Regions from separate parts of the Homo sapiens genome. Here region 2 is linked to region 1. Evidence: promoter capture Hi-C in 16 types of primary human blood cells and fetal thymus (Javierre and others, 2016). All regions are on one chromosome and are shown on one strand. The core of a region is centred on a gene start or on the middle of the fragment in contact, and the rest is flanking DNA. Distances in the headings are between cores, read along the strand shown. Region 1 holds the start of WFDC8 (WAP four-disulfide core domain 8). Region 2 holds the start of SPINT4 (serine peptidase inhibitor, Kunitz type 4).

Region 1 (4,613 bases), core at 1,364-3,863:
TACAGGCGTGAGCCAATGTGCCCAGCCTTAGAGTTTTCTATTGCCTAATATTAATCAAACTATACTCTCTCTTCTTTGTTTGCATTTGCCTAGTCTTTTTTCCATTCTTTTGCGTTCAACCATTCTACTTATGTTTTAAGTTTATCCTTCAAATCGTGTAAATCTACATTGTAAAAATCCAGTCCAGAAATTATTACCTATTAATTGACATTTATGGGCACTAATGACATATTTGGATTCATTTCTACAATTTTATTACAAGTTATCTACTCTCAGTCCTCATTATTCAGATTCTGTACTTGCCAATTTGCCTACTTGCTGAAATTTATTTATTACCCAAAAATCAATACTCATGATGCTTTTGTGGTCATTCAGGGATATGTGCAGAATGGCAAAAAATTTGAGTCCCCCAACGTACACATTCCCAGCTGAAGTCAAACAAGGCAACGCTCTGCTTGTTTAAGCTCTTCTACTACTATAAACAAGCTTCCTTTTTGCAGTCTACTTAGTGTCACATTTTTCACATTTTTGTGCTTTTTGTTGGTGAGTTTGCTGTTTAAAATGGCTGCCAAGAATTACTAAAGTGCTGTCAAGTGTCCTAAGAGCAAGAGGCCTGCAATGTGCCTTACAAAGAAATTACTTGTGTCAGATAAGCTTGGTTCAGGCATGAGTTACAGGGCTTTCAGCCACAATTCAATGTTAATGAAACAATAATATATATTACATAAGGTGTCTTTTTTTTTTTTTGAGATGGAGTCTCACTCTGTCGCCAGGCTAGAGTACAGTAGTGCGATCTCGGCTCGCTGCAACCTCCGCCTTCTGGGTTCAAGTGATTCTCCTGCCTCAGACTCCCGAGTAGCTGGGATTACAGGCACCCACCACCACGTCCTGCTAATTTTTTGTATTTTTAGTAGAGATGAGGTTTCACTGTGTTGGCCAGGATGGTCTCAATCTCCTGACCTAGTGATCCGCCTGCCTCAGCCTCCCAAAGTGCTGGGATTACAGGCATGAGCCACCGCGCCTGGCCTATATACATGTTTAAAAAATAAAGACAGGGCCAGCACGGTGGCTCATGCCTGTAATCCCAGCACTTTGGGAGGCTGAGGCAGGCAGATCACCTGTGGTCAGGAGTTCAAGACTAGCCTGGCCAACACGGTGAAACCCTGTCTCTACTAAAAATACAAAAATTAGCCTGGAGTGGTGGTGCACACCTGTAGTCCCAGCTACTCAGGAGGCTAAGGCAGGAGGATCCCTTGAACCCAGAAGGTGGAGGTTGCAGAGAGCCGAGATCACACCACTATGCTCCAGCCTGGGGGACAGAGAGAGATTCCCTCTCAAACAAAACAAAAAAAATAAAAATAAAAATAAATAAATAAATAAAGTATGTAGAGTTTTATTTAATAATTAACCACACAGATTAAAAAATAGAAAGTAGCCAGCTTCCCAGAAGTCTTCTGTGTGCACCTTCTAATTACCATCTCTGTCATGTGTCTTCAGACAGAAGCACATATAAAAACAAGGTTATGTATTGATCAAATGATGAAAATGTGTGGTCAGAGGCTTGCATTTTCCCTAGGAGCAATGGCTCAGTATTTGCTAATCCGGTGTTCACAGTGACTTTACAGAACATAACTACCCCCAAGTAATGGGAATCAACTGTATTTTTATTACTTTGGTGTACAAAGAACTTTGAGCTCTCCATGGCTTGCCACAACAAAAGACTTCCTAGGCAAATTGTCTACTGCTTTGTTCCAAGTGGGGGCTCTACTTGAGGCTGTGGGACCAAGACAAAAGAAGCAGCCTCTATGTGGATTAGGCCCCTTCTCCTGGCAGAGAGAAAGCACAAAGGAGCTGGCAGAAACTCACAGTGCAAAACTCACTATGCATATGCTACATCTGCTCATACTCCAATAGGCAAAGCACAGCTGACAGCAAACCCAAAGTCAATGAGACAGAAATGTGTCTTCCTTCCACGGGCCGTTCTAAAATTGCAAGGTAATGGACAGGAGTGTCCTCTTAAAGGAAAGATGGAATGAATAGTTGTGAATAATAATATAACCCATCACTACTACTCCTGTTTTAATTTTTTGAAAATGTTTAGATACATATTATATGCTTGTTTAATTTAAAATATCAAACTTTACCTTGCTCAGGCTCTGCCCCTCCACACTGGGCCACTCAAAGATGCCCAACTTACCCTACTTGGGCTCCAACAGCCATATCAGGTTGCATTCGAGACCAGCCTGGCCAACATGGTGAAACCCCGTCTCTACTAAAAATGCAAAACTTAGCCGAGCGTGGTGGCGCACACCTGTAGTCCCAGCTACTAGGGAGGCTAAGGCAGGAGAATCGCTGGATGCATTGATGCCCTCTTCACCCTGCTTAGGCTCTGATTCCTGACACAAGACAGCTCTGTTCTGTGGAACCCCTCCTCACTATGCTTGGCCCAACTCCCCACAGCCGACCACTCTAACTTCTATGTATCCTCCTCATCTCCTTGGGCTCAGACCCTCCATGTCTGGCTACCCACCCCCATAGACACCCTCCTCACCCTCCTTCAGTTCGGACAGTCCACATCAGGCCTCTTCCCTATGGAGACAGCTTCCTCACTTTGCTCCAGCTCTAAGGCTCCTCCCTCATCTGCTCCCCTGCCTGGACACTCTGCTCACCCCACTCAGGCTCTCATTCTATGCCAGTCTGCCCCTCTAGCCCCAGGGGGATGCCTTTCTCAACATGGGCAGGCTGGTCTCCATGCTATGCTGCTTCTTGCCTCTTCACTGGGCATTCTCATCTACCCCTGGCTCCAGCACACCAGGCCAGCAGCCCTCCTACAGAGACACCCTCCTTGACCTGTTCCAGCTCTGATGCCCACACGGAGCCAGCCGTGGCTCCCTTCCCCTTGGGGCAAACGCCTACCTTGCTAAATGTGCCTATCTAATGGCTTTAGGACTGACTAGTTCAGTTAGTAAAGAAAAGGAGACAAAACAAGGAAGAGCTACTTTTCCTTTTTGTAAAAATATGTATTGTGAAAAACACCACAAAAATAAAAATATGCATGAAACATTAATGTTCAGTCTAACGAACTATTACGAAGTGACCACTCATTAAACTATCACTGAAATCAAGTAAAAAATTTCCAACACTTTCTGCTCCTTTTTCATTCTTTTCCAGTCACAACCCCTTCCTATGCTCTCAAAGGCAGCTAATGGTAGTGACTTTCTTTTTCATATTTTCAAGATCATATGTATTCCCCTAAATATGTTTTTGTTTTTGTCTGCTTCTGTTCTATATCAATGGAGTCACTTGGAATGTATTCTTTTGTGCCTGGCTTTTTGTGTTCAACATTATATTAATGAATTCCATCCACATTGTTTTGTGTAGCTGTATTTTGTCAATTTTCATTGCCATGCCATCTATTGTATGACTACACACATCTCTACTGAGTTGTTTATAGTTTGCAGCTGTTAAGAATAAAGCTGCTGTGTGTATACATAGCATGTATGTAATAACGTTCTGCACGTGTATCCCAGAACTTAAAGTATAATAAAAAACTAGGATTTTCTAAATAAAAATGTTATTTATATCAACATGTAATAAGTTTATTACGTTAAATGAATTAATAAATGTTTTTAAATGTCAAAAAAATTTTAAACAATTTACTCATGTAAAAAAAAGAATAAAGCTGCTATGAACACTCTGTGTGCATTTGCTGGAGCACGTGGGCAGGTGTTCTTGTAGGTTATACATTCAGCATAGGGAATGATGGGTTACAGGGTATGCATATCTTCAGCTTCTCAAGCTGATACCAAATTATTTCCCAAAGAGTTTGTACCAATTCACAGCCTTGCCATTGGTAGTTGAGAGTTCCTATTGTTCCATAACCATGCTGTATGTAGAACTGTCACAATCTTTTCATTTTTACCATCCTGCTACGAGTATGGAAATACATCACTGTGGACTTAATTTAAATTTCTTGACTACTAATGAGGTTGAGCACCTTTTTAGATCTTTATTAACCACTTGGCTATCCTCTCTTTGATTTTCTTTTCAAATGTTTTGCTCATTGTTCTCTGGGGTTTTCTGACTTTTTCTTGCTGATTTCTACTGGAGTCATGTCTTTCCTCAGTTATATGTATTATGAACATCTTCCAGGATCAAGGGTAATCTTCTAAAACCCTTATTGGCTTGTCTTTTACCTTTTGAATGAAAGTTTTTATCACGTGCCCTTCCTACCCCAAAGACAGAATCAGGAATCCTTTTTCTATGTTCCTTTCCTACAATACAATAACTCGCTACAATACAATACAGTAACTCCAATATCTGAAGTCTTTGTGGACCTCTGCTGTTGGTTGTTTTTCTTGATTTTTTTCATCTTGTTTTCTTAAGATCTGTGTGATTTTTTTTATTGTGAGAGTACATATTTAATGGAAGTTTATGTATGTAACAATACTTTGTGGAATTTCTTGGATTCCTGTGTTTAAAGGAGAATTCTTCCGAATCAACTTGTCCTCAATTTTTCCCTAACAACTCATGCAATTTTGAATTAAATTCATAGCTTTAGATTTATCAGACCATGCACATGTGCCAATTTTCCTACTCTGCTCTTATGAAAG
Region 2 (4,613 bases), core at 973-3,472, 140 kb after region 1:
ATACCAGTCAGAATGGTGATTATTAAAAAGTAAAAAAAAAAACAAAAAACACAGATGCTGGAGAGGTTGTAGAGAAAAAGGAACACTTTTACACTGTTAGTGGGCGTGTAAATTAGTTCAACTATTGTGGAAAACAGTGTGGAGATTCCTCAAAGATCTAGAGGCAGAAATACCATCTGACCCAATAATCCCATTACTGGGTATATACCCAAAGGAACATAAATCATTCTATTATAAAGACACATGCATGCATATGTTCATTGCAGCACTATTCACAATAGCAAAGACATGAATCAATCCAAATGCCCATCAATGATAGACTGGATAAAGAAAATGTGATACTGAAATATATATATATACACACACACACCATGGAATTCTATGCAGCCATAAAAAGAAATGAGATCATGTCCTTTGCAGGGATATGGATGGAGCTCGAAGCAGTTATCCTCAGCAAACTAACACAGGAGCAGAAAACCAAACACTGCATGTTCTCACTTACAAGTGGTAGCTGAATGATGAGAACACATGGACACATAAGTGGAACAACACACACTGGAGCATATCATGGGGGTGGTAGGGAGAGGGAGAACATCAAGAAGAATACCTGGTGAATGCTGGGCTTAATACCTAGGTGTAGGGATGATCTGTGCAGCAAATCACCATGGCACACATGGTTTATGTATGTAACAAACCTGCACATCCTGCACATGTACCGCTGAAATTAAAATAAAAGTTGAAGATTTTTTTAAAAGATAGCATTTACAATAATATTAAAAATATAAATAAGATTGTAACACCTGCATGAGAAATGTCATAAACCTTTCTTTAAAATATTAATGAAGGTCAAAATAGATGGAAATATATATATCAAAGACAATATTATAAGGATATCATTCTTTTCCAATTGATTTGTAGATCCAGTGCAATTCAAATGAATATCCAAAATAGGTGTTTTGTTTTTGTTTTTGTTTTTGTTTTCGTTTTCGGTCAGAGTCTTGCTCTGTCACCCAGGCTGGAGTGCAATGGCACAGTCTCAGCTCACTACAACCTCTGCCTCCCAGTTCAAGCAATTCTCATGCCGCAGCCTCCCAAGTAGCTGAGATTACAGGAACTCACCACCATAACCAGCTAATTTTTGTATTTTTAGTAGAGACGGGGTTTTGCCATGTTGACCAGGCTGGTCTCCAACTCCTGACCTCATGGGATTCACCCACCTCAGCCTCCCAAAGTGCTGGGATTACAGGCATGAGCCACCACGCCTGGCCCGAAACAGGTCTTTTGAATAACTTGATAAACTGACTAAAATTTATATGAAAATACAAAATCCTAAGATAAACAAAGTTCAAGAGATTAAGTGTGGCTTTGGAGTGGGGGTATACAGTGGAGTGAAATAAAGGGCTCAGAAGCAATCCCACATAATTAAGCAAAATTATTTTGCAGTTAAATAGAAGAGGAACTCATTAATAAATAGGTCTGGAACCACTGAAAAATGAAAAAGGATCCTTATGTTATACCTTACCAAAAAATCAACATCAGGTGGTTTTAGGGTGTAAAGGTAAGCCAAAACTTCAAAACTTTTAGGAGAAAACAGATCCAAGATGTCCTCATGTTCCTAGATAACATAGTGTAGTGTGACTAAGAACAAAAACTCTGAAGCCAAGTTCAAATCTTGTCTCTACCACATAATAAATGAGTGACCTTGTACATGTAACCTAATCTCTGTCTCCATTTCATCCTTAAATGATGGTAATAACTGTACTTACTTCATAGGGTGTATATGATGATAAAGTATATACAAATTACTTAAAAATAGCACCTGGAATTAAGTAGTACTCTAGGTTATAACTAACCCTGTTACTATTATTATAGTGCTATTGCACTCTTTCTCTTGTGCCATGATTAGTTTCTTCTGTGCATAAAAGGTCAAAAAGAGAAAGGAAGAAATCCCTTTTTAATTCCTCACTCTGATGATTCTACCCTTCATGATTAAATATATGCAGAAGCTCTGATCCTTAAGTTTCTATTGCTTCTAGATGAACATGGGACTCACTATCAAGGGTCTAATCAGTTTGGGGCCTTCAGCTTCATGGCTGGGTACCCAAGCACTCACTGTTCAACTCAACACCTAGTAATGTCCAGTCCTGGCCCTTGGGGTAGGTGAGCTCAACCGTCTCAAGTATCAAGCCCAAAATATAACATCAGGTGATACCACAACTATCCTGCCTGCTGCTTGCTGCACCATGAAGTCTGCCAAGCTGGGATTTCTTCTAAGATTCTTCATCTTCTGCTCATTGAATACCCTGTTATTGGGTGGTGTTAATAAAATTGCGGAGAAGATATGTGGAGACCTCAAAGGTATGAAGCTAAGGCAGAAAATAAATCCAAAGGTCAATTATGAATGAGAGAGAAGGTATTGGGAGAAAAGTGTGTTATCTAGGTAGTCCAGGAAGGTCTTCCTTTCATGACAATACCCATAGACACTTAGTCCCTTGACTCAGGGCATTACTTACACTAGGGGTCCTCTGGATGTTTGATGAGAAAAAACAGAAATGACACAAAGTCCTTTCCAGATGGAGACCTCTTTTATAGGAGGTCCAAAGGACTGGAAGTATTTTGAATCAGAGGTTGTGTGACAAATTTCAAAGATCCCAGACCATTGATGATTATGTATTGGGATGAGAGAGAAAGGGGGTTGGAGACAGAGCAAATTAAGACATTTTCAGTATCTGGGCTATGGACATATACAGAACTCTTGGACAGATGATTCCTGTTTAGAGGAGCTCACAATGTAAATGTGAGAGGCAATGAGACTTTCTTCCATAGATAGTGTGTGAAGGCTCAGCGCTTCCAGGGGACGAGAAAGTAGCACAGTTTATACCGTAAGTCAGACACTTCAAGTTCTGGACCTGTTCACTTAGCAGATATGTGCCCTTGGACAAGTCACTCAACCACTTATTATTCTCTTAGTCTCAGTTTCCCCATGTGTAAAATGAAGATCAGAAAAGTGCCTGCTGCAGAGGGTGTTTGTGAGTATGAAATAAGATTATGCACATAACTTTACCAGAGAGTAAATTCCAGGCTGGCTGCTTGAGTAAGGTGGATTGTCAATACAACCATGATTGTGGCTGTTCCAACCACTTACTACCCAACTCTTAACAATAAAAACAGAGGGTTTGCCTCTGAGAAGGCAAGAAAGGAGAAGATGACGGGGTATGAGGATGAACGAGCATCACCCCAAGGTTATGCATTTTAGCATTTTAGTATGCATCCTGCTTTAAAGATAGCAGCAGCCATGGTTACTTAAATTTTGAAGTATAGGTAGTATAGTGAATGTATGAAACTGGGGAGGAGGCACTCTGAATTGCATGTCCTATGTGGGCAATTAAAAGGAAAGGAAGATGATGTGGGGAAGCAGGAGGATACTGTACTTTAATAAACTGTAAGATAGGAAATGTAGGGAAGCTCATCGCCCTGCACAAGCTAGTGGTGGAACCTCCTTTTTCACTGATCACTACTTCTCCTTCTCCAATACACTGCTCACGACAACAACCTGGAATTTTAACCAATTTGCATTGTGCAAGGGCAACATTTCCAAGCAACTCTAACTCCAAGAGAAAACCACATCTTTCAGAGTCCTTGAATATGAGAATAGTTCCAGGCTAAACGTAGGAATTTTTAAGGGCCCATAAAGACAAGTTCTCCTGCTGAGTCCTTACCAATTCCCACTAACTCAATGGGAACCTCTCATGCAGATCCCTGCAAATTGGACATGAATTTTGGAAGCTGCTATGAAGTTCACTTTAGATATTTCTACAACAGAACCTCCAAAAGATGTGAAACTTTTGTCTTCTCCGGCTGTAATGGCAACCTTAACAACTTCAAGCTTAAAATAGAACGTGAAGTAGCCTGTGTTGCAAAATACAAACCACCGTAAGGAATCTAATCCTGTCCTTGGTCCTTGGGGGTAGTAAAAGAAGAGGTTTTGACATCCTAAGATAGAGAAAATTGATCAGGGGCTAACCTTGCTTGGAGTGGGAAGAGGGAGGATTGCTCAAATAAGAAGTTTTAACAGTTGGGTTGGCCGGGCGCAGTGGCTCATGCCTGTAACCCCAGCACTTTGGGAGGCTGAGGTGGGTGTATCACCTGAGGTCAGGAGTTCAAGACCAGCCTGACCAACATGGAGAAACCCCATCTTTACTAAAAATACAAAATTAGCCAGGCATAGTGTCGCATGCCTGTAATCCCAGCTACTCGGGAGGCTGAGGCAGGAGAATCACTTGAACCCGGGAGGGTTCAAGAAGTTCAGAGGGTTCAGAGGTTGCGGCGAGCCGAGATCGCGCCATCCATTGCACTCCAGCCTGGGCAATAAGAGCAAAACTCCATCTAAAAAAAAAAAAAAAAAAAAACCACATTTGGGTGGGCTGTCAGGATCATTTGCTCATTTTGCAGTTAGGAAATCAAATGCCCAGAGAGAAAATAATAGCCACCATCTATTGGACAATTACTGTGTGTCAGGCACTGCACTAAGCAATTAACATATATTGATATAATTTAAAATTATATCAAGGTAGGGCCAGGCGTGGTGGCTCACGCCTGTAATCCCAGTACTT

What was found. The method cuts DNA at HindIII sites, captures the fragments that hold promoters and counts their contacts. A CHiCAGO score of 5 or more calls a contact.
Region 2: the fragment with the promoter of SPINT4 here is called in contact with the fragment with the promoter of WFDC8 in region 1 in 4 of 17 cell types (M2 macrophages, M1 macrophages, M0 macrophages and 1 more); the score reaches 6.6 in M2 macrophages.

Annotation. Positions count from the first base shown.
Region 1 is chr20:45,576,671-45,581,283 of GRCh38, forward strand. It overlaps WFDC8 (WAP four-disulfide core domain 8), which reads right to left and starts at 2,614. Exons shown (of 6, transcript NM_130896.3): 1 at 2,552-2,614. The coding sequence starts at 2,577. RefSeq lists an enhancer at 1,429-2,364. The HindIII fragment of the contact is 6,723 bases long and covers 653-4,613 here.
Region 2 is chr20:45,720,125-45,724,737 of GRCh38, forward strand. It overlaps SPINT4 (serine peptidase inhibitor, Kunitz type 4), which reads left to right and starts at 2,223. Exons shown (of 3, transcript NM_178455.3): 1 at 2,223-2,358; 2 at 3,756-3,933. The coding sequence starts at 2,244. The HindIII fragment of the contact is 5,556 bases long and covers 1-3,884 here.